Linked DNA regions of Homo sapiens: regions 2, 3, 4, 5, 6 and 7 are each linked to region 1. The links are contacts of gene promoters, found by promoter capture Hi-C in blood cells and fetal thymus (Javierre and others, 2016). All regions are on one chromosome and are shown on one strand. The core of a region is centred on a gene start or on the middle of the fragment in contact, and the rest is flanking DNA. Distances in the headings are between cores, read along the strand shown. Region 1 holds the start of CMAS (cytidine monophosphate N-acetylneuraminic acid synthetase). Region 2 overlaps C2CD5 (C2 calcium dependent domain containing 5). Region 3 overlaps C2CD5 (C2 calcium dependent domain containing 5). Region 4 overlaps GYS2 (glycogen synthase 2). Region 5 overlaps C2CD5 (C2 calcium dependent domain containing 5). Region 6 overlaps C2CD5 (C2 calcium dependent domain containing 5). Region 7 has its middle 3.4 kb from the start of C2CD5.

The links. The method cuts DNA at HindIII sites, captures the fragments that hold promoters and counts their contacts. A CHiCAGO score of 5 or more calls a contact.
Region 2: a fragment that was not itself captured here is called in contact with the fragment with the promoter of CMAS in region 1 in 7 of 17 cell types (activated CD4 T cells, naive CD8 T cells, total CD4 T cells and 4 more); the score reaches 9.8 in activated CD4 T cells.
Region 3: a contact is called between a fragment that was not itself captured here and the fragment with the promoter of CMAS in region 1, in 8 of 17 cell types (activated CD4 T cells, non-activated CD4 T cells, erythroblasts and 5 more). The highest score is 9.2, in activated CD4 T cells.
Region 4: a contact is called between a fragment that was not itself captured here and the fragment with the promoter of CMAS in region 1, in 1 of 17 cell types (non-activated CD4 T cells). The highest score is 6.2, in non-activated CD4 T cells.
Region 5: a fragment that was not itself captured here is called in contact with the fragment with the promoter of CMAS in region 1 in 4 of 17 cell types (non-activated CD4 T cells, activated CD4 T cells, naive CD8 T cells and 1 more); the score reaches 9.1 in non-activated CD4 T cells.
Region 6: a contact is called between a fragment that was not itself captured here and the fragment with the promoter of CMAS in region 1, in 3 of 17 cell types (total CD4 T cells, non-activated CD4 T cells and activated CD4 T cells). The highest score is 7.1, in total CD4 T cells.
Region 7: a fragment that was not itself captured here is called in contact with the fragment with the promoter of CMAS in region 1 in 9 of 17 cell types (non-activated CD4 T cells, total CD8 T cells, monocytes and 6 more); the score reaches 10.8 in non-activated CD4 T cells.

Annotation. Positions count from the first base shown.
Region 1 is chr12:22,044,172-22,047,694 of GRCh38, reverse strand. CMAS (cytidine monophosphate N-acetylneuraminic acid synthetase) reads right to left here and starts at 1,477. Exons shown (of 8, transcript NM_018686.6): 1 at 1,132-1,477. The coding sequence starts at 1,391. RefSeq lists enhancers at 345-1,050, 1,366-1,660 and silencers at 1,353-1,580, 1,224-1,593. The HindIII fragment of the contact is 10,395 bases long and covers 1-3,523 here.
Region 2 is chr12:22,487,054-22,490,361 of GRCh38, reverse strand. C2CD5 (C2 calcium dependent domain containing 5) reads left to right here. Exons shown (of 27, transcript NM_001286176.2): 12 at 144-239. Among named protein-coding and RNA genes, the nearest start is that of C2CD5, 56 kb to the left of the region's middle. The HindIII fragment of the contact is 4,369 bases long and covers 1-3,308 here.
Region 3 is chr12:22,469,674-22,473,122 of GRCh38, reverse strand. It overlaps C2CD5 (C2 calcium dependent domain containing 5), which reads left to right. Exons shown (of 27, transcript NM_001286176.2): 17 at 316-379; 18 at 776-837; 19 at 1,058-1,156; 20 at 1,635-1,724; 21 at 2,212-2,299; 22 at 3,328-3,414. Among named protein-coding and RNA genes, the nearest start is that of C2CD5, 73 kb to the left of the region's middle. The HindIII fragment of the contact is 3,361 bases long and covers 1-3,115 here.
Region 4 is chr12:21,559,695-21,563,284 of GRCh38, reverse strand. GYS2 (glycogen synthase 2) reads left to right here. Exons shown (of 16, transcript NM_021957.4): 6 at 1-57; 7 at 247-367; 8 at 2,793-2,899; 9 at 3,575-3,590. Among named protein-coding and RNA genes, the nearest start is that of SPX, 35 kb to the right of the region's middle. The HindIII fragment of the contact is 779 bases long and covers 1,580-2,358 here.
Region 5 is chr12:22,526,346-22,529,435 of GRCh38, reverse strand. C2CD5 (C2 calcium dependent domain containing 5) reads left to right here. Exons shown (of 27, transcript NM_001286176.2): 4 at 1,544-1,715. Among named protein-coding and RNA genes, the nearest start is that of C2CD5, 17 kb to the left of the region's middle. The HindIII fragment of the contact is 6,677 bases long and covers 1-3,090 here.
Region 6 is chr12:22,505,039-22,508,369 of GRCh38, reverse strand. It overlaps C2CD5 (C2 calcium dependent domain containing 5), which reads left to right. Exons shown (of 27, transcript NM_001286176.2): 10 at 1,551-1,659. Among named protein-coding and RNA genes, the nearest start is that of C2CD5, 38 kb to the left of the region's middle. RefSeq lists a silencer at 2,141-2,435. The HindIII fragment of the contact is 154 bases long and covers 1,483-1,636 here.
Region 7 is chr12:22,546,301-22,549,553 of GRCh38, reverse strand. No RefSeq gene overlaps it. Among named protein-coding and RNA genes, the nearest start is that of C2CD5, 3.4 kb to the right of the region's middle. The HindIII fragment of the contact is 951 bases long and covers 1,223-2,173 here.

The DNA of each region.
Region 1 (3,523 bases), core at 228-2,727:
ATCTCTCCTTCGCACACTTCCTATTGCACTAGTGTTATCTTCTGAGTGGTGGCTCCTATTTGCCTTGGTCCATCCAGGACTTCTTTTGGGTTGAAACATTAAGAAAATTAGTATATTTATACTTTTTTGGCATCTCCCGTTTTTGAACAAGACTGGTTAAATGAAAATCATTTACCCATATATTAATATGGGTAAGCAAATATAGGTTCAAAAAGAAAAAGAGATGACTTCAAAAACAGTCATCTCTTTAAAAATCGAAACATCAAAAGGTTAACATAAATTAATTTCCACAATAACAACACATTCAAATGTAGTTAGGTTGAAGCTATATGTGTAAATTCATTCTTGGCACAGAATTCGATCTCCCTTCTTTTATGAATAACATCAGCTTGTAACTCCTGACCAATTTGGCAATGTATCTAAATTACGCATAATTAAAACTGTCCATAGGGCAGGCGAGGTTCCAAAGGTATGATTAAATGATTTGTAAGTATTAATATATCATAAAACAGTCAGTTGTACACCTTCCCACTGAGTCTCACGTATTTATAAATGTAGGGAGTTTTCTAGATTGTGCTGACTCACAGGAAGATAGCTGGAGTATTTTTCAAAGGTTAGGAAAAGATCTCCAAGCTGAGCTTGAAATTCAGCTCTGACACCCCGACACTCAACTCCATTCATGAACCTGATGCCTCCCTAATCGAGCAGCACCAAGCAGTTATCAGAGGCTGAGCAACAGGGGAGCTTCGATGGCCCCCATCCAAAGAAGTTCACATATTATCACAGATGTTGCACCGGGGTGGCCTCCTTTACTTTTCCCCGTAAGGTCAACCCGGGAGGAGGGGACGGTTGGGGAGGTGTAATCTCCCCTTTTACGGATGATTCTCAAGGGCGGAGACAGGAACTGTCCCAGGTTATGACCATTGGCAGCTACGGAACAAGGAAGGAGCTGGAGCCCTTCCTCCTGGGCTCTCAGCCCGGCCCCAGGCACCCCGGATCTTGCACATCCCTGGCATGAGAGATGGCCCCCTTCCAAGAGCGGTGGCCCCGGAGGCCCCAGCCCCTCCAGCAGCCCGACTCCCTCTCCCGACCCCCGCCCAGGCCGCGCCGCCCACTCTCGCACATGCGCACCTCTGGAAGGCCCCTGAATCCAGGGCCGCACGCAGGACCCAGCCAATGAGCGGGACCCCCGCCAGGTGCTTAATGTTCTTCAGGGGGATGCCTTTGCTGCCTCCCCGGGCCAGAATTAGGGCTGCCAGGTGCGGGGGCTTCTCCACACCTCGGCCCTGGCCGCCGCGAGAGTTGCGCTGCAGCTTCGGCGGCCGGCCCCGGGACGGTCGCCCCCGCGGGTTGGAGACGGAGGTGGCGGCCCCCTTCTCCACCGAGTCCATCTTCCTCCCACGCCTTCTCCCCAGCTTCTCCACATCCGGGAGCTAGTCCCTCACCACCTCAGCTCGGCGCCGCCCGATCCCCGCCTGGCAGCTGGCGCGCGCGGCCGTCCCTCGCCCCGCCCCCTCCCCCGCCCCTCGCGGTGCTCGCTGGGAATTGTAGTCCGCGGCCGCCTCGTCTGGGGCCAGTAGGCCAAGTAGGCTCTGATGAGGTGACCCCAAAACTAAGTCAAGCAGTGGGAGTCCAGAGATATTTGGAGGAAGTGCGGCTTTTGGGGTGCTTGCAAGTGTCTGTAAATTTCTAAAATTAAAAAAGAAAAAAAGTATTTATAATTGCTGAAGAACTTCCCCACTTTAGAATTGTGGTGGGTTTCCCGTTGCATACCTTGATGCACCCTGACACGAATCCATTTTATATTTTAAAATGTACATTTTAAACATACACCTTTTTTTAATGCCCCTGGGTCATTTTTTCCAAGAAATTACTGACCAGCTCATTCAAATATCCTACAGGCGCCTTAAACTCAACGTTTTAAAAACTCCATTTTTCATATGCTCTCCGCACTTTGATCGACATCAGCATTCCCTAGCAGCAGAAATTTGGAAGTCAGCTTTACTGGTCACCTCTAGTGTGGCCGACACTTGGTTTTTTGGTTTTGTTTTGTTGTCTGCTAAAAATCTTTTCCTTTTAGGAATTGATCCCTCTCTCATCCGGTGAGGGTTTCCCTCACATTCTCTGCACTGTGTGTGACCCAAGCTGGTCCATCTACGCACCCCATTTTCCTTAACACACCTGTGGTCTAGGGACAGGCATATGACCAAGCAGAGCCCACTGGAGTCCTTTCCAGAGAGTCTTGGAAAGAAAGGATCTTTCTCGTGCTGACTGGGTGCTAAGGACCTTGTTAACCTGAAGCCTCAGGGCAAGGGTAGGGTAGGGCGGCAGGGGGGCTTTGCTGTTCTGAAATGGGCTGGAAGACTGATGTTCTCCCTGAGGAAGCAGAACAATGACATGTAGGGATTAAAGAGAAAGAATTCTGGAGGCATCATTTAAACTCTTTTTTTTTTTTGAGACAGATTCTCACTGTGTCCCCCAGAAGGCTGGAGTGCAGTGGCACAATCTCGGCTCGCTGCAACCCTCTGCCACCCATTCTCAAGCGTCCTGAGTAGCTGGGATTACAGAGGGGCACCACCACACCCAGATAATTTTTGTATTTTTAGTTGAGTTGGGGGTTTCACCAGGTTGGCCAGGCTGGTCTTGAACTCCTGACCTCAAGTGATCTGCCCGCCTCAGCCTCTCAAAGTGCTGGGATTATAGGCATGAGCCGCCACGCCTGAGCATTTAAACCCTGATCCAGCCAAGAGGCTCAAAGACATACACCCACACACACCTCTCTTAGGAAAAAAAAAAAAAGAGACTTTAAAGCAGGCATCTCTGACCTAGCATGCATTTTGTCTTTCAGCATGTTTGCAAGCCTATATTTGGAAGTAGAGTCTTTTACATTTCTGAGATGGAGGCTGATACAAACAGAAAGAATGGATTGTAGTGTGTCGGCTTGCCTTCTCCCAGAGGGCAAAAGGATTTTGTACTTCTCAGGTCTTGGCCATTTTTGAGGGGAGAGAAGAAGTCTTTGATGTTTTGGGTCCTATGAGAGGTACTGGATACTTTACATCTCTTAGTCTGTGAATTAACTGAGGGCCCAGCCCTTCCTGGGACTGGTGCTGGAAGAAGGTGCTTCGTGCAGACACAGATAAGGGAGGCTGTGAGCAGACATCAATGCCATGCTTGGGAAAGGGGCAGGCTCTATGAGCCATTCCAGCACTGAAGGGCAAGGGGACAACTTGCCCCCATACACTGGCTCTTTGAGTAGGGCCTTTGCAGTTGCTGTGCCTCAGAGACACCAGCACTGAGCTTTTGGTAGTCATGTGAGGACCCCTACTACACCCCAATAACAATCTTGATTCCTATTAATGATTTAGTTGCCCTTCTCCACAGTAATTCCCTACAGGCCCATAAATCCTAGTGGACCACAGACACCTGAGTAGTTTTGACTCCTGGGGCATATTGGTGTCCTCTAAGCTGGGAACAGAGCAAGTGGCACCACTGTTACTTATCAAATGAGATTATAGCGATTTAC
Region 2 (3,308 bases), core at 571-3,070, 440 kb before region 1:
TAAACCTCGTAAATATTATTTAATATTGAGTAGAGTCTAACTTGAACTTAAATTGTCACTGTTATAATTATTTTGATATTTAGCATTTCCCAAAGTTATACGGTCTGAAAAATGTTAACTTGTTTGTGTTTTTTCCTTTATAGTGAAGAGGTCTGCATTTTATCTGCATCTGGCACAGCGGCTGTACTGAATCCTAGATTTCTGCAGGATGGCACCGTGGAAGGCTGTTTGGAACAGAGGTTGTCATGGCAGCCTGGCTTATTTTCTATAAGGGCAGAGAAGGGAGAGGTCGACTTTTTTTCTGAGAGTTGGGATAATTCTTCTCCGTAGGGTGGCTTACAGGGGTACAGTGTAGAAATCAGGACCAAGCACTTCACTAATTTTTAACTAACCCGTAGTAACAGAGGAGTATTGGATTCTGCACTATATGGCACACATTATTGTTTCTAGTGTCTTGATAAGTGACATGTATGATTACCAGTTGAAGAATTTCAGGTGTCCATTTTTTTTTGCTTTGTCATGATATAGAAATAATCTTTGGATCTTTCTCTTCCTTTCATTTCCCTGTGTCTCACCTCCAAAAACAGAAAGAGGTTATGAAACAATTTTTATAAAAAACAATTCTTAATTTACAAAATAGTAAAAGTACTGCATTTTATCAAGATTATCTGTAGATATAATATATATGGTCCTTCCGTGTCCATAGGGAATTGGTTCCAGGACCCCTTGCAGATACCAAAACCTGCAGATGCTCAAGTCCCTTATATAAAATGGTATAGTATTTGCATGTAACCTATGCACATTCTCCCCTATACTTTAAATAATCTCTAGATTATTTATAATACCTGATATAATACCTGTTCATCATTTCATTTTCATGGATTCAGTGTAATGCTGAGCATGTGGCAAATTCAAGTTTTGCTTTTTGGAATTTTGTGGGATTTTTTATTGTTTTCCTATTTTCAACCTGTGATTGGTTGAATCCATACATGCCAAACCCATGGATACGGAAGGGTGACTGTATATTTAAATATATATATATATACACATATATAAACTATTAGTTTGGTACCAGAGTCTACCTGGATAATACAGATTTTAATTACCCCTTATGCCACAGTGTGCCTATTTACTTCCCCCCTCCCCAGTATTAATATATTAAGTATATATTAAGAAAGGAAGCAAAGGCCAAGTGCGGTGGCTCACGCCTGTAATCCTAGCACTTTGTGAGGCTGAGGTGGGTGGATCACTTGAGGTCAGGAGTTTGAGACCAGCCTGGCCAACATGGTGAAACCCCGTCTCCACTAAAAATACAAAAATTAGCCTGGTGTGATGGTGGGCGCCTCTAATCCCAGCTACTCAGGAGGCTAAGGCAGAAGAATTGATTGCTTGAGCCTGGGAGGTGGAGGTTGCAGTGAGCCAAGATGGCACCACTGTTCTCTAACCTGGGCAACAGAGTGAGACTCTATTTAAAAAAAAAAAAAAAGCAAAAAAATTCTGTATCTTGTCAAGTTTAGTATAAACTTGCACGCATTTATAACTAAGATATTCTAGTTCTGGTATTCACTAGAGGAACTTGGTCAGTTTCTTTTGTCAGTATTAAAATGGATATTGACTATTATGAATTCCAGAGCCTTAAAGGTCATTGTAAATAGGAAAGTGAAGGTGGGGCATTTTGAAGCACAGTAAATAATTAGAATATTCTATTGAGGAAACTCTCTTTGTCAGTGAGTTGTACCAGTGATACAATATAGTTCTTACACGTCTGTAGATTTCATTCTTAAGTTGATAGGAAGCCTAATTTAACAAATGACCTTTTTCATGTAGCTTGGTTTTTTTCTGTATTGTGGCTTGGACGAATACAATAAATTCTCTTATATAGTAGTTCAATACAATAGGTGCCACCCCTAGTTGTAAAAAAAAAAAGAAAAAAACAAGGAAAATGCCTTTTCTTTCTGCTATAAAAATTATTACTGCTTATTAGAAAAAATTTGGAGAGTTCCTATATCAAATGATGCTAGATTGCCATCCTTTTCAAATTCTTATATGCTTTGTAAGATTTCCTACGTCTTGCCTTGAAGTCAGCTGTCATTTTTCATGCTAATTCACTATGCTGCCTATAGAAATTCTTATCCTCATTTGTTTGCTATTTCTTTGTTTTTTTTTAATTATACTTTAAGTTTTAGGGTACATGTGCACAACGTGCAGGTTTGTTACATATGTATACCTGTGCCATGTTGATGTGCTGCACCCATTAACTCGTCATTTAACATTAGGTTTATCTCCTAATGCTATCCCTCCCCCCTCCCCCTACCCCACAACAGGCCCTGATGTGTGATGTTCCCCTTCCTGTGTCCATGTGTTCTCATTCCCACCTATGAGTGAGAACGTGCAGTGTTTGGTTTTTTGTCCTTGTGATAGTTTGCTGAGAATGATGGTTTCCAGCTTCATCCATGTCCCTACAAAGGACATGAACTCATCCTTTTTTATGGCTGCATAGTATTCCATGGTGTCTAGGTGCCACATTTTCTTAATCCATTCTATCATTGTTGGACATTTGGGTTGGTTCCAAGTGTTTGCTATTGTGAATAGTGCCGCAATAAACATACGTGTGCATGTGTCTTTATAGCAGCATGATTTATAATCCTTTGGGTATATACCCAGTAATGGGATGGCTGGGTCAAATGGTATTTCTAGTTCTAGATCCCTGAGGAATTGCCACACTGACTTCCACAATGGTTGAACTAGTTTACATTCCCACCAACAGTGTAAAAGTGTTCCTATTTCTCCACATCCTCTCCAGCACCTGTTGTTTCCTGACTTTTTAATGATCACCATTCTAACTGGTGTGGTATGGTATCTCATCGTGGTTTTGATTTGCATTTCTCTGATGGCCAGTGATGATGAGCATTTTTTCATGTGTCTTTTGGCTGCATAAATGTCTTCTTTTGAGAAATGTCTGTTCATATCCTTCACCTACTTTTTGATGGAGTTGTTTTTTTCTTGTAAATTTGTTTGAGTTCATTGTAGATTCTGGATATTAGCCCTTTGTCAGATGGATAGATTGCAAAAATTTTCTCCCATTCTGTAGGTTGCCTGTTCACTCTGATGGTAGTTTCTTTTGCTGTGCAGAAGCTCTTTAGTTGAATTAGATCCCATTTGTCAATTTTGGCTTTTGTTGCCATTGCTTTTGGTGTTTTAGACATGAAGTCCTTGTCCATGCCTATGTCCTGAATGGTATTGCCTAGGTTTTCTTCTAGGGTTTTTATGGTTTTAGGTCTAACATTTAAGTCTTTAATCCATCTTAA
Region 3 (3,449 bases), core at 186-2,685, 430 kb before region 1:
TTTATTAATTTAAACAAATTAGAATAATGATTGCTTATGATGTCTTTGTCTTTAGAAACATATTCTCATAAAGGCTTGAGAAAGAGCTAGTTTTCTTTTTTAACTTAGTGTACTTTGTACGTAAAATATTTCACTTGGAAGTATTTGTGGTTATTACTGTGGAGAAATTTACTGATATTAGAATTTTTTTCTTGTTACATATTTTTACTTAGGAAAAATGACTCTGCCTTTTCTTGACTCTATTAATAGTTCTTTTAAAACGTGAAATAATTATGCATTTACTACTTATAAAATAGTTTTAATCTCTATTTTAAGATTGATGACACAGATGCCATGGAAGATGTCCATTCTCTACTTACTGATGTTCCTCCTCCTTCAGGTGAACAAAAAAGTTATCTTTGAGATGAAACTAGTTTTACATATAAATGTTTTAGCTCATAATTGTTACAGTACTAATTTTACTTTAAAAGAAGGACTTATCACAGTGTCACAGCTTGTCATGTACTTTGCTACTCCAAGGTAGAAAACATACCTTAAAAATACTTATGTTAGAACTTAGGTGGAAGTGATTTTTAGTCCTTTTATATTTATACACGGAAAAAAAAACCTGTGATAATTTATTAGGATGGTTTAAAGTCTCCTGCAGGTATAGTTTTAGAAGAAAAAAAATGAAGGGTGTTATAGTTAGAACTTCATATAATAATTGAAAAATGTCATTTAACACAAAAATCAATGAAATATTATCATATATTTTGATTACAATTTATTTTGACAGGCTTTTATAGTTGTAATACAGAAATTATGCCCGGTATAAATAATTGGACCTCTGAAATACAGGTAAACCTTTTTTTCTTAATTTTAAGCACATAACACATAAGTTATTTTAGTAAGTTCCATTTAAATATTTGTCTTTTTTTTTTTACCTCCTTATTGCAATTAAAATACCATCCTTATTCTACTACATTAGTTAGTATTGTTCATTATTTGGCAATTTATCAACTGTTAAAATATTTAGTTAAAAATAATAAAATGACATGTTATGTCACCCCACATTTAGATGTTCACTTCAGTAAGAGTAATCAGATTAAGCAGCCTCAACCTGACTAATCAAGCTCTCAATAAGAACTTTAATGATCTCTGTGAAAATTTGCTCAAGGTAGGAACCTTCTGACTAAATTTTATTTCATGCGTCTATAATAATGAAATTTTAAGTGTCTATATTGCTGTATTGTCTGTAATACCTTACACAGTTGTGGGCTGAATCATTCTTACCTACTTACCTTACCTCTATCAGCGGGTGAGATACTAAAGTTGTCCTCTCCCCCTTACTATATCAAATTATAAAAGAAATAGTTTTAGTTAATAGCTTTAACTTCCATAAAAATCTAGTGTATATGTGTATATTTAAAAAAACTTACTATATTATTTTTTGTGACTTATTGACGATTAAATCTTATTGTCTACTTAAATATTAAAAAGTATATCGTTAGTGTAAAAATACACAAAACAAAAGTGGACCAGTTTTGTTTTATTTTTAACTCTCCATTTGCTATAATATAATGTACATTAAAAAAATCAGCTTTTAAAAATTTTTAAATAAAAAAGTGACATTACTAATATTTTCTATTGTGTAGAGCCTGTACTTTAAACTACGATCTATGATCCCCTGCTGCCTTTGCCATGTAAATTTTACAGTATCTCTGCCTGAAGATGAATTAATTCAGGTAATTAAGATTTAGTCCATTATTAGTCTTTATCTGATCTGTTTTATTATTTTCATTATCTGTTTATCATAATTTTGCCGTAATTAAATAAACATATACTAGTTTACCTCACAATATTAAAAAATATATGTTAGTATGCATTAGGCCATGTGTGTTTCTTTTTCTGAACTTTAGTTATCTGAGGGGGTAAGCACACGTATGCTTCAGCATGTATACAGTAGGATCTGTACCCATCATGTGGGATTTCACCAGTTCCCATTTTTTAGAGAAGGTTCTTGAGCTCTTTCTGGAATATCTAGATTTAGGTATAACTGTTTGGTATAGTTGTAGTTTGTGTATGATTTGAATTTATACATAATTCTGGTTGAGGATTTTAACCAGAAAAGGTATTTGGTGTAGGTTGTTCCGTGGTACTGAAAAAAATATGTAAGAAACTTAGTTTTGGCAGTGATTATTTTGCTAACCATTATTGTTTTTATAATTCTAGGTTACAGTCACGGCAGTCGCAATCACTTTTGACAAAAATCAGGCTTTACAAACCACAAAAACCCCTGTTGAAAAGTCATTGCAAAGAGGTAAATCTTTACTGAATAGGAAGTTCAGTTTGTGTTTGTCTGTGTTATGGTTCAGTGATAAAATATACAGGACAGGTGGATTCAATAAATTACTTATTTCTTGAAGAATATTTGCTGCTTTTTCTGTTCATCTTTATGAAGATAACTGTGTGGATAAGCGTATGGCTGACTTGATATTTTTCACACGCGACTGGGTGGTATTTGACTGATGTTTACATAGAGAATGCTGCTGGTTTTTTAGACTTAAATTATAGCCTATTAATTCTGCAGTAATATAAGGGTTTCTATACTAAGATCTCTGGCAAGGTCTTCAAGGCATCTGAGGACCTACTGATGTAGTAAGCACAATTGTGTGCCTGTGTATTATTTTCAGGACAAGTTCCATAGTGTTCAACAGATTCACAAAGGTGGCCTTAATCCAGTAAAATTTAGGAAGTAGTCTTAATATATATTCTGAAGAAATCCAAATTATTGGAAACTGTGTGTTCTGAAAAACACATAATGGGGGATACTATACTTTCTTGTATAGTTTGAATGATTTACTGGCTAAATGAAATATTCCTGATTAGTCCTAAACTTTTAAAAGTTGATTACATTCTACATGTATAGCATTGATAAGATTTGAGCAGTGAGTTAATGTCAGGTAGATGTATTAAATGATTATGTGTTCAGATATTTATCAAAGAAGACATGTAACCGGTTTAAGTATCACAAAAGCTAGTAATGGACAAAGTATAGGATATTAATTATTGTCTAGCATTTATTATTTGCAAAGCACTGTGCTAAGTGAGTTACAGATATTAATCTCTTAAAGCTTCACAAGAGTCATACCAGGGAAGATAGCACCAGTCTCAGCATCATGCAGATGAATGGTTTCCATGGGAGAAATCAAGGAGAAAATGACCAGAATAAATTGGGGTGGGGAGATGGAGCTGAGAATATGTATATGTATGTTGTCACAGATTCTTAATTTTAAAAAATTAATAATAGATCATTACTAAATAACTGATATTTTCTTGCCTTTCTAGCCTCAACAGATAATGAAGAACTTTTACAATTTCCACTGGAACTGTGTTCAGATTCACTTCCTTCTCATCCTTTTCCACCAGCTAAAGGTTGGTTAAGTGAGGGAAAAAGCAAACACAAATCC
Region 4 (3,590 bases), core at 720-3,219, 480 kb after region 1:
TCTACATGCCATGTACAAGGCCAGAATCCAAGATTTTGTTCGAGGTCATTTCTATGGGTATGATTTTCTTTATTAAAAAGAAAAAGAAGTATCAGATATGAGTGATCTTTGGTAGAGAGAAAACAGAATTGTAATAATAAATGTTTATCTTTCCCAGCCCCCTTTGTACATTAACAGAATTCATGTGTACATTTTGTTACTGTTGCTGTATTTCATTTGAAACTGTTTGGTTTTGTTTTGTTTTAGTCATCTCGACTTTGATCTTGAAAAGACTTTGTTCCTTTTCATTGCTGGGAGGTATGAGTTTTCAAACAAAGGAGCTGACATCTTCCTAGAATCCTTATCCAGGCTAAATTTCCTGCTGAGGGTAAGAAAGCTCTAGGACATGGTATAACACTCTTGTAGGGAGAACTTTCTTCTGTGGGAAGTGAAGAATTTTTTGGCTTCTTAAATAGTTTTCAAGAGAATAAACGATAATCGTATTCTAAAAATGGCTTCAGCCTTTCAATTTACATATTGGAGTTACCACACTGTTGACTTGTGTGTTTGTCTATAATGTCATCTTTTTTTTTTTTTTTTTTTTTTTGGAGAATCTTAAGCTTATCCCATTATATGTCTCATTAAGCTTATCCCATTCTCCCCTTCTATGTTTTAATAAGTCATTATAACATCCCTTTTCCCTCACATGAGTTTGTAATCAATTGAAAAGTAAATATAGAGAAATCCAGTAAATGCAGAGCAAAATATCAATTTTCAGAAAATCAGTGAAGACTATAATGGAAGATGTGGCTTATGCACATGACAATACGCATCCTAATACTGAACCTTGTTATGACTCTTAGCCATTTAATCATAGGAAGCTCTGACCATCACTCTCCTCTCCCGACTGAAGCAGGCCTTCAGAGTAGCACGTGCCACATAGCTGGCAGCCAAACCCGACAGCACGAACTCTCTATAGAACAGGGCAGACACATACACACTCGGTTCACTCACCTCCCCAGCCACACCACCTCCCTGCGACTAAGAGTTTTAAACTCTTGAACTAGTGGATGTCACACCACATGAAAGCATGAAGGAGGAAAAAGAAGGTTCTTACTCCCAACCATGTGAAATCATTTTTTTTACTCAGGAAGGTGGGATACAAAGTGGGTTCTCAACTAACCGAGCAACACAATATGCATAAATAAAAGCAACTATAAAAAAAGATACCATGTCATAGCTATTGATGGCAGCTATTGGTTTATATTCCAATCCCATCACATAAAAATGTAGAATAAGTAATAGGAAAATATTCACAGGAGAAGAGTGTAGAATTTCAATCTTAATGAGATAATGAGAAAATCTAAACTTTCCTGAGTTCTGTACTACCCTCCAGTTAAATTTTTATTTCTTGGACATAAATTTTTTGCTTTAGAGCAGACATTATGCCAAATATGCTAAAAAAATTTACTAAAGCCACGTTAATAAACAAGCGATTTATTAATAAAATCCAACTATGCAAAACAGAACTGAAGACTAAAAAGATTATTCTTAAATAACCTTACTTAATATTTCCTAGTATATATTCATTCAACAAGCTTTATAATGGACTCACAACTATATCACATATACAATCTTTAGGGACATTATTAATAAATGCATTTATATAGTTATTAAATATTCACTTTATTTATAGATATGAAGAAAAGACTGATTACTATTATACTAGACATAAAAGATAACTGCAATACTTGGAGAAGTTAAAAGAAGGAATTCTCTTTCCACATAGTACATTTATTTTTTGATAGCACCTTGGCTGTTCCTAGGGTGAGTTTCCTATTGTATGCCTTCAGTAGCTTTCCCTAATAAAATGTCAGGCCCTAGAGGGCCGAGGCTGCATACTAGACGGTAAAGTGCCCCACACTCTGGAGCTAGTCAGTCATTTCCAGAACACATAAACCTTCATAGAGGTTCATGATTTTAAGTGAGTTTATGCTTTCATTCTTACAGCTTCTTAACAAGTCATTTCCTTTTGAGAGATGCTAAGCCAGCAGTTTAAATGTCAGCTTTGGCACTAACCTGTTATAGGACTCAGAGAAAATATTTAACCTCTCATTCCTTTCTTTTGACATTAATAAAATGAGGAGAGAAATGCCTATTGTACATGATTATTAGTAGTATATTTAAAGCACCCAGCACAGTGTCTGCTATCCCAAAAGTGCTCGTCATGTGCTTGTTTCTTTGCTTTAGGGCTAAAAACCAAAATACAACATCATGAGAATCAAGACATTTAGCGGAAAAGTAAAAATAATCTATCTGTCATCAATCAACATGAATAAGCAAAAAAATTGAAATATTATTTTAGCTTTTACCAAAGCTTAAATCTTCATTAAACTTCCAATCTGAAATTTTAAAGAACTAATTTTGGTCTTGTAATATTAGCTCTCATTCATGCTATTTTTTTAACCACAGAAAAGCACAGTGTCATCAATAGCAATTGTTATCTATTCTAGATGGTCAAAGGCACGAAAATATTTTGTTTGAATTTTCAAATTGTTAACTGACAAATACTGATTGAAAGTCAATTTGTTTATTGGCAAGTACAGACTGAAAATTTAAAATTTATTTTGATTTTAATTAAAATTTCTGAAAAAGTCTCAGGAAGGTGAATATAATCTCTCTGTGAAACATAAATAACTATACCTTTTATCTACTGATATTTTAAAACTCTACTTTTCAATGTTTAAGTTCCATCTATCATACTTTTTAAAAATCTTTGATAGTTGACTCTGTGTTTTCTAATTCCTCATCAGATGCATAAAAGTGACATCACAGTGATGGTGTTTTTCATTATGCCTGCCAAGACAAATAATTTCAACGTGGAAACCCTGAAAGGACAAGCAGTGCGAAAACAGCTGTGGTAATCTCACAACCTGTGAATGTTCTCTAGCAATAAATGTGAAAAGATTTCTTTTAAGTGAATGACATCTCATGTATCGCCTTGAACTTTGTTTTTTCCTTAAGATTATTACAGACAAATAATACTTGACTCTCTTTTCATCGTGCTACTATTTTAGGTTATCGTAATGGTTATAACATTATAGGTGTTATACAAATTTTGGAATGAGCTACCATTGAAGGAACAAGGCCCTGTAGAAATCTTTAAAGATGAGTCAAACATTTTTTAACTTTCTATTGTGAAATTCTAAGAACATGTCAAGTAAAAAGCTTAGTAATATGACTCCCTGTATACTCATAGTTCAGATTCAACAATGATCAACGAATTCCCGTCTTGTTACACCTATACCTTCATCTACTCCCCCTCTCTGCTCTCTATCCTGTTCCAATCATCATGAAGCAAAAAAATTTTAAGCTCTTTGTGCTGGCCATGGTGTTCTGTTGCCTCAGCTCTGGAGATGTCAACTTAAGCTGAATTGGCAAGTAGTAAAATAATAGAAGAGACTATAAAAAAGATACCTGTAATTTCAAAGAATGTAATTTCAAAGAATGTCAACAAAACAATAGCATTATCGTGACAAATAAAGATTAAACATTGTCATACTGTTTAAATGATAAATCTTTCTGTTTCAAACAGGGATGTTGCACATTCT
Region 5 (3,090 bases), core at 571-3,070, 480 kb before region 1:
AAAAAATAATACTCAGAGGTGAATGTACAGGTGGTTAAATAAGTATATACAGAGAGTATTTTTAATGGAGTTAGAAATTGGGGGGAATGTCTTAGAGTAATGGTTAATGGTTTGGTTTATGATTCTTTCTCTTCTGTTAAATGTATACATAACAATAGTAGTGGAGAGAATGCCATTGGATGACAGATGATTTGGAATGGATTGGGATTCAAAATGATCATTTTATTTTAACATTTCATTATGGAAAATTTCAAGCATGCACAAAGATAGATTAGTATATTGAACCTCACCCACCTTTAACAGCTGTCTACGTTCTACTGTTCTTGTTTTGCCTTTTTAACTCCTGCCCACCCCGGTTTTCCTTGTGGGGATATTTTAAGGCAAATTTGAGATGTTATATGATTTCATCTGTGAATTCCAAATTATATACCTCTTATAAAGGAGGACCCCTTATAAATAAACAAAACCTTAGATCACATTATCACACTAATGATATCAATAATTCCTTAATATTCTTTAATTTTTAAAATAATCTTCAGAGGCTGGATTATTAGCTTAACATCAACAATAAATTAAATAGGGGATAGGGAAAGGCATAAATGTTTCATATCCAAGTTTAAAAAACCAACCAGAGTATAAGGGTTGCAGAGCTATCACTTGACCAAAGCATATGTAAGAATGATACAGAGATTTTAGCCAACCACAGACTCAGTCTTAATAGTATGGTATGTCTGATGTAAAGAAGAACATCCATGGACTGCATTTTAAAAGTATAATTTTCTAATTATAGAAAATAATAATCCTTTGGTATTCTGTCCCAATCTTAATAGTGTCTATAATATGTTCCCTTCTGGCCACTATATTTGATGAAGGGGACTGGTAAATTAGATAATGGCATGATATCCAGAAGGTGGCAGCCAAAATAGTGAGTACGTCTTCCATGAGGAAATCATTTTGCACTGTTCTCCATTGTAAATGCCTCTGTTTGGCACAGTGTTTGGCATATGATAACAACTCGATAATGACTAAATAAAAGGAGAGAGGGTAGATGTTTATATCATGAACTTAATTTGTGAACTTAGGTTGTTTTTTCTTACACATAATGTTAATTTTGCTTATGGTTCTGTTCTCTGAAATCGCCCTTAGAAATTGTGGTGTCATTGTGCTCAATTAGCATTCTTCTCTCTATAGATACTACATGAACTCTAATATGACATTCCTTAGGCATTTTTGCTATGTATCATAGGCAAAGTTGTAAAACACAGGATAATATGTAAAAAAAATTGAGATTTAAATTTTTTTGTTGTTAGTCATCCCAGTCTTGTGCTGAGAGATAAACTTTTTTTCTTTAGAAAGATGGGATATTGTGTAGGAAAAGGAGCTATATCTTTTTGTGTGTTAATTCTTTTCTTTACTTTGGTGCTTAGAAATCTGTAAGATTTTATTTGCAGATGTGTCATCCTTTTCATTTGATATAGGTATACATTTGTGGTAATTAAGATTTAAAAACTATATGAGTTTTAATTTTAAGGTATACTTGTAGGTGGATGATGAAGACTTACAAGATGAACCTTTACAGATCACAGTTCTTGACCATGATACTTACAGTGCAAATGATGCCATTGGTAAAGTGTACATTGATATTGATCCTTTACTGTATAGTGAAGCTGCAACAGTCATCTCAGGATGGTTTCCAATTTATGACACCATACATGGTAAGGAATAATAAGAAAGTATTATAAATAACAATCTTAATCTTTTTTATTTGTCCTTAAAGACATTTGTGCTATATTTGCTGGTTTAAAATATGTATCTTTAGGCTAGGTGCGGTGGCTCATGCCTGTAATCCCAGCACTTTGGGAGGCTGAGGCGGGTGGATCACCTGAGGTCGGGAGTTCGAGACCAGCCTGATCAACATGGAGAAACCCCGTCTCTACTAAAAATACAAAATTAGCTGGGCATGGTGGTGCATGCCTGTAATCCCAGCTACTTGGGAGGGTGAGGCAGGAGAATCACTTGAACCCGGGAGGCGGAGGTTGTGGTGAGCTGAGATCGTGTCCTGTGCAACAAGAGTGAAACTCTAGCTCAAAAAAAAAAAAAAAAAATATATATATATATGTATATAATATATCTTAAGATGATGCCTTTTTAAAAATAAATAATAGTAAATTATTGTTAGTAAAATTGTTGCTTCTCTCAACATAATTTGAGATAATGCTTGCTAAATTTGTATAGTATAGTAAGTAAATGCATGATTTAAAACTGATCTAGTATTGATACTGTGTTTCTAAAACACATTTTCAAACTGATTAATAATGATTTTTGTACTTAAAAGTTACTTAAAAGTTTTTTGTTGCCTGAAGCAGGGCCTCCCGGGCAGTTGCGATTGCAGGCACATGCCATTGCAGGCACATGCCATGACACCTGGCTGATTTTTAAATTTTTTGTAGAGACACGGTTTTGCCATATTGGCTAGGCTGGCCTTAACTCTAGAGCTCAAGTGATCTGCCTGCCTCAGCTTCCCAGAGTGCTGGGATTTGCTTTCTTAATATTTTAGTAGGTAAATTATTGAGTCAGTTTTCTTAAGTCTTCCACCATAAGTATGAATTTGACATGAAGTCAGGACAGTCAAGTGAAAATATTTAGTAAATGTTTAGAGATAAGATCTGGGTCATTCTTATTTATCAGAGCATGTTTTGAAAACCCTTATTCTTGGAATTTTTTATTTACTTAATTTTTTTCTCGCTGTGTTGCCCAGGCTGGTCTCAAACCCCTGAGCTCAAGCTGTCCTCCTGCCTTGCCTCCCAAAGCACTGAGATTACAGGCATGAGCCACTACTCCTGGCTTGGAATTTTTTAGTTAGCTTGCTTTAACTTATATTCATTGAAAAGAATAAAACTTCTTTTGTTTTAAATCAGATTCTTGCATTGTTAAGAATATATAATCTGGGATCATAAAGATCTGAATTTTAATCCTGGATCTGCCACTTAACAGCTATTGACACTGTAAATTACTTAATTTTTATTAAAAATTTCTTCCTTTGTAAAATGGGGATGATACTACCTTATTGGGTTGATGTGACTGCTCTGA
Region 6 (3,331 bases), core at 310-2,809, 460 kb before region 1:
CTCTCCTTCCATCCTCTTCCTTATTTTCCCTCTACCTTTCTGCTGGGCTATACCTAACCACTTCCATAGACCAGTTTTTTACTCTTTTCTTACATAGCATAGATTTTTCTTTCTCTTGTTTAAAGATTACTTCTAAATTTGAACTGAATTTATTTCTAAATAAATTTTAGAAACTTTTTTATACTCAACCTTCATGGGTTACTGAGGTGCACAGGACTGATAGCTTTTGTGCAAAATGATTCCAAGTTGCCGTGCTTTGTGATCATGCTTTTGTGAGTTTGTATTCTCCATGCTTGAAGCAGCCAGTGAATAATTCTTGCTGCTTTTAATAAGCCTGCTTCTGGTGGTATTCTGTATCTCTTTACCAGCTTTTATTTGTTGCATTTAATCTGAGGTGGTCTTGAAAATGAGATCATGATAAATTTTAGAGTTGTTTCTTTTTAAGATAAAAATTTATAACTACTATAATATAGTATGAATATGATCTGTGGGAGTCTCCTATGAATAAAGTATATGAGCTTTAGAGCTTGAGACCGTAACAGTTCTTTTGACCGTTGAGAGCCCTGTTTTGCTTATTTTTCTCAATTATGCTCAATTATGTTCTAAATAGCTGAGGCTACTGGTAAGTGATTCCAGTTAAGTGAGCTACATTAATCTTGCAGCCAGACAGGTCAAACATCAAGTTTTCCTTACTTGCATCCAATTTGTGTAATGTGAGGGGCCTCCATGTTTTCACAGGAGCTCCGTTTTCTTATTGGGTCCTATTTCAATGAATTTCCTTTCTTGGCTTTTTCATTTGTCTTTTTTGTGTTTCTCTTTGTCTCTAAGTTGATGAATTTTATTCTTTAAGAGAGAAGGATAGAATAAAGCTTGCAAGAACTTGTGGAATTTTATTGCCTTCCTAGCTGTTATCTATGTACCTTTCAACTTTCCTTAATGTACCTTTATGCACTTGTATTTGTTCCTGCCACATTGGTGTTGATAGAGTAACCTCACACAATGATTCTCTACCCATCTCAACTTGATATTTGCCACTATCCTCTTTCTCTTAACCCACACTGCTTATCCTCTCACTTATCCTCCTTTGGTCCCACTTTCATTTAGATCCCTTGGCCCCAGGTTTTTAGAGTCTTTACCAGTGTCTTATACTGGGTGTTCATGTGAAGGGGGTGTCTAAACCACTGATAGATAAAGGGGAAGAGGGATAGGGCAGTTCCCTCATCTCATTGAGAAGTTCCATCAGAGTTGGAGATTCAGAGGAAGGAAGAGTGTGTTTCAAATATCTTAAATTGAAGGAACACTTTTTTTTTCTTCATTGAGAACTGATGAAATGGGTCTTTGGATTCTGTATAACATTGTATATATGGGGAAATGGATTTGAAACTCTAAACATTTAATTAAACTTTTAATTACAAAGCATGTGTGATGTGTAATGGGTGGCCTTTTATTTCAAGGGATGTAATACAGTTGCTATGGCAAGCTTTTTAATAAGCAAATTTTTTACACTCTACACACGATAAGTTGTATTTTTCCCTTATTCTTTCCACTAGGAATTTCCATTTTTTACCTTGACGGCATTTCCTCCTGGATTCCTTGTACACGTTGGGGGTGTAGTTAGTGCACGTTCTGTGAAGCTTTTGGATCGTATCCACAATCCTGGTATGTTCTTAAAAAGTTTCAATGTTTCCTTTATTTAAATTGTGGTTATTAAAATTGATTTTTATGATTTTTTTAAAGCCAAATCTAACTGAAAAGAGAAATGAAAAGAAAGTATAAACTAGCACGTTACTTTAATATATTTGTAGTCATCTTAATTATAAATAAACTAAGTGTATTTTAGTTACTTTTCTGTAAAAAACCAATTGATTTATTTTTGGTCACAATATCACTTTAAGGAAATCCTTAAATAACTTTTCTTTGACCCAGGGGAGATAAACATTTTTATAAATTGACCATTATGGCCATTAGTTTAAGATGTTAGTTCTTTTCATTAGCAGTAGCTTTTTATAGATTACTTATTTTCCTTGTTCTTAAAACAGGTATTTTTAAAAATGTAATTGTAAAGCTGGGCACAGTAGCATGTGCCTGTTGTCCCAGCTACTCAGGAGGCCGGGGCAAGGAGGATCGCTTGAGCCCAGGGCAACATAGCCAGACTTGGGCAACAACCTGGGCAACACAACAAGACCTATGTAAACACTGTGGGTGTCATAGGAACAGATAGGTAGCAGAGGGAACCAAACCAGTCCATGGGTCAAAGACCCTCTTGCTGAGCAGGCTACTGGAGCTGTCATTTCTTAGAGCTCATTGTGTAACTTGAACACACTGGGACTGTCTTTGACCACGGCCACCTGTCCCCTCCAGTCTACCCAGGCAGCACTCAGGAGACACAGAACCCAGATCCCAGCACTGTGCTGGGATTCCACTCTGTCATTGGTGGAATCCAGCATGGGCAACAAAGTAATTGTAGGCGTTGTCTAGAGTAGCTAAGAATTGAAAAACAGATGAGCAAACTAACATCTGGTCCTTCAGTTTCTTTTATGTAGCTATTTGTTATGTTTAAGCAAACGAGTAAGAATAGTAGCTTACTTCTTTAAAACATAGGACCATAATTATAAAAGCGAGTAGGCATCAAAGTCCCACTGGATTCAGGCCCTTTGATCAGAAATCCTCTGGTGATTTTTCTACGTCTAAAATAAGCATGATGAATAGTGGGAACTTTCCATATGGAATGTGTTCTTGCATCTCTCATTGACTAGATGCTCAATCAACATACATTAAACCTGAAGTTATATTAGTATTCTTATTTGGTGTATAGACGTATATATTTTTGAAAATTTTAAATTGTCACATCCAGTGACCTCTTTGTGAGGCTTGTATTGACAGCTATAAAAAGAAGGGTGGCCGGACACAGTGGCTCATGCCTGTAAAATACTAAAAATACAAAAATCAGCTGAGCGTGGTGGCAGGCACCTGTAATCCCAGCTACTTGGGAAGCTGAGGCAGAGAATTGCTTGAACCCGGGAGGTGGAGGTTGCAGTGAGCCGAGATTGTGCCACTACACTCCAGCCTGGGCGACAAGAGCGAAACTCTGTCTCAAAAAAAAAAAAAAAAAAAAGAAAGAAAGAAGGGTAAAAATGCTTTGAAGTTATTGGACCAAAATATTGTAGATAATGACTATTTTTGAGGATACAGAGCATTACTATTTTTTAAAATTTTTTTAAAGTTTAATTTATGCCCTGTAGTTTGATGTCATTTGAGTTTATTTCAGAGAAGAAGACTAGAATTCTCTGGACCCTGAATGAGATTTCAGAAAAACAGTGCGAGTCAGGAT
Region 7 (3,253 bases), core at 449-2,948, 500 kb before region 1:
TGAAACCCCCATCTCTACTAAAAATACAAAAATAAGCTGGGTGTGGTGGCAGGTGCCTGTAATCCCAGCTACTCGAGAGGCTGAGTCAGGACAATCACTTGAACCTGGGAGGCGGAGGCGGCAGTGAGCAGAGATCACACCATTGCACTCCAGCCTGGGCAACAAGAGCAAAACTCCCAAAAAAAGCAATGTGTTCCACTGCAATAATCTTCCAATTTAGAGAATATTTTACTTGATGCAGTCCTTATGCCCATGGTACATTAAGTATGGTATGGTACCTTATGCCCATGGTACATTAAGATACAAGGGAACTAATAAGATGATGAGTTTACCTAGATGCCTACTTATCTCATTTTTACTCCTTAATCAAAGCAAAAGTGAGCCACATGGTGGCTCACACCTGCAATCCTAGCACTTTGGGAGGATGAGGCAGGCAGATCACTTGAGCCCAAGAGTTCGAGATCAGCCTGGGCAACATGGGGAGACCTCATCTCTACTAAAATATAAAAATTAGCCAGATGTGGTGGTGTGCGCCTGCAGTCCCAGCTATTCAGGAGGCTAAGGTTGGAGGATCACCTGAGCCTGGGAGGTTGAGGCTGTGGTGAACTGTGATCTTGCCACCGCACTGTAGCCTGGGTAACAGAGTGGGACCCTGGCCCAAAGGAAAAAAAAAAATCAAAGCAAAAGTAACTGAACTGAGCCCAAGTTGTCATTTGTATAATTATACTTGTAATCCCAGCCCACTTTCAAACTTAAATCAGTGAGTTTCTGGCTTGAGCAATTGACTATGTAGTTGGCATTGCTGTTTAGTAGAAGACTACCAGGTCTTTTGTTGTTGTTGTTGTCATTCTCGTTGTTGTAGTTATGGGAAAGGTAAAGAAAATCAGGTCAGTTTTGGACATCTTGACTTTTGAGGTCACTTTTGGACATCTTGACTTTTGAGGTCACTTTGATACTCCAAATGGAAATAGTAACTTGGCAGTTGCATATATGGGTCAAGATCCCAGAAGCGAGTTACAGACTAAAGATAACGATTTGAGAGTCCCTGACTAAACAGATGGAAATTAAAATTGTGAGCTTGGATGAGATCACCTAGGGAGACAGTACAGTTGGAAGAGAATAGAGACAAAAACTGAACCTGAGAAAAACACATATTTAATAGTTAAGGACAATGAGTAGGCTGAGAAGACAGATGTATAAACCAGAATAGGTAAGAGAAGCTTGGTTTCTGAATACCAAGAGGAAGATTATTTTAAGGACAGCGTGGTCAACAGCATCAAATGCTACTGAGAGTCACGTAAATAAAAAACTGAAGCCAGGCATGGTGGCACGTGCCTGTAGTCTCAGCAACTTGGGAGCCTGAGGCAGAAGGACTGCATGAACCCAAGGGTTTGAGACCAGTCTGGGCAACACAGCAAGACCCCATCTCAAAAATAAAAACTTAAAACTAAAAAAAGTGTTCATTGCATTTAGCAACCAGAGGTTATTGATGGCATTAGTGAAAGCTGTTTTTGTAGAGTGGTGGTGGCTAAACCCAGATATTAATAGTTTTTGGAGCGCTTAGGAAGTGAGGAGAGGGCACCAAGTACTGACAACCCTTGAGTAATTTAACCTGAAAGAATGGGAAAGATTAACAGGAACATTTTAGGAAGCCAGGAAAGAAGAGCAATCTAAGTAGTAATAGCAAGTGTTAACTGTTAATTTAATTCCACAATAATTTGTTGATCACATGAAGGGCACAGGACAAAGAACTGAGAATTGAGAGATGAGTGAGAAGCAATCCATTCCCTCAGAGTGCTCATGGTTTAGTGGGGGTTGGGGGGGAGAGAGATGGATAAATAATTATTGCATGGAAAGTATAATAACAAATGTATTAGATTTAGTAGTAGCATAGGTGGGAGTGAAGAGCATATTTATTAGGAAGGAGATTAGAGAAGATGTAGAAGTGACTTTTGTAAAAGGCAAAAGATTTATACACTCTAAAGAGAAACCAGAGTATTGACTTTTGAACTGAGTTATGAATTCATAGCTATTTGGTAGGATGACTATGAGAGAGATACTCCAGGAAGAAGGAAAAGTATAGTTTATTAGAAAACTACATGTAATCTTCAAAGACGTGAGTTCTTGGAATCACATTGTCTAGATTTAAAACCTGCCTCTATCATTAGAAGCTTTGTGACCTTGGGTAATCACCAGAGCTTTGAAAAGCCATAATTTTCTCATTTATAAAATGAAGGCTGATAATTCCTACCTCAGGATTTTAGGGAGCCTTAACAGCTGTGAAACGCTGAATTCAGTAGCTGGTGTGCGGCAAACCATCAATACACGTTAATTCTTGTTATTGATAATTTAAAATGCAAAAAGAGTGTCAGGGTATGAAGCTAAACAAGGTAATCAGGAGTCACATCATGGTAGATTTGTCAGAAAGTTAGCACTGTTCCCAGCATTAATGAAAACAAACGAGAACAATTATTAGGAAACAGTTCAACTGAAGTCAGGCTTAAATCTACTAAAAATAGTTTTCAGGAAGCATCTTAATTATAATCTCTTGTTGATGAAGCCTAAGGCAACAAGTACGTACAAGTACCTCAAAGTCTACTAATTAGGAGGCTGAGATTGCTAACCTCTAATTGTGCAATTTGCAACTTTTTACATTTTGGAACACAATGCATTATTTTCCATTAATATTGGTGCTAAACTTCAATTTTCTAATATTTTTTCTTTATACATTTCATATTTTAAAAAATGAGTTGGTAATACGGTAATACTTCGATTTCACCACAAAAACGACTTCAACTCTACCACCCAAAACAACAAAAAACACTGATCATGCCGGGCAAGATGGCTCATGCCTGTAATCCCACCACTTTGTGAGGTCAAGGCAGGAGGATGGCTTAAACCAGGATTGAGACCAGCCTGGGCAATACAGGGAGACTCCATCTCTTCAAAAAATTTAAAAAACTAGCGGTGCATGGTGGTATGTGCTTGTAGTCCCAGGAACTTGGGGGGCTGAGGTGGGAGGATCGCTTGGCCCAGAAGATTGAGGCTGTAGTGAGCTATGATCATGTCACTGCACTCCAGTGTGGGACACAGAGTGAGTCCCTGTCTCTAAATAAATAAATAAATAAAAAACGTTGATCACATAGTGTAGCCAACCTTCAGAATTCTGGCAAGGGTATTTTAAGGGCAGAGTCAGACTCCAGAAAAAGCTGCAGGTGGACCTAAGGAAATTCGCATGGGATCTATGACCCCT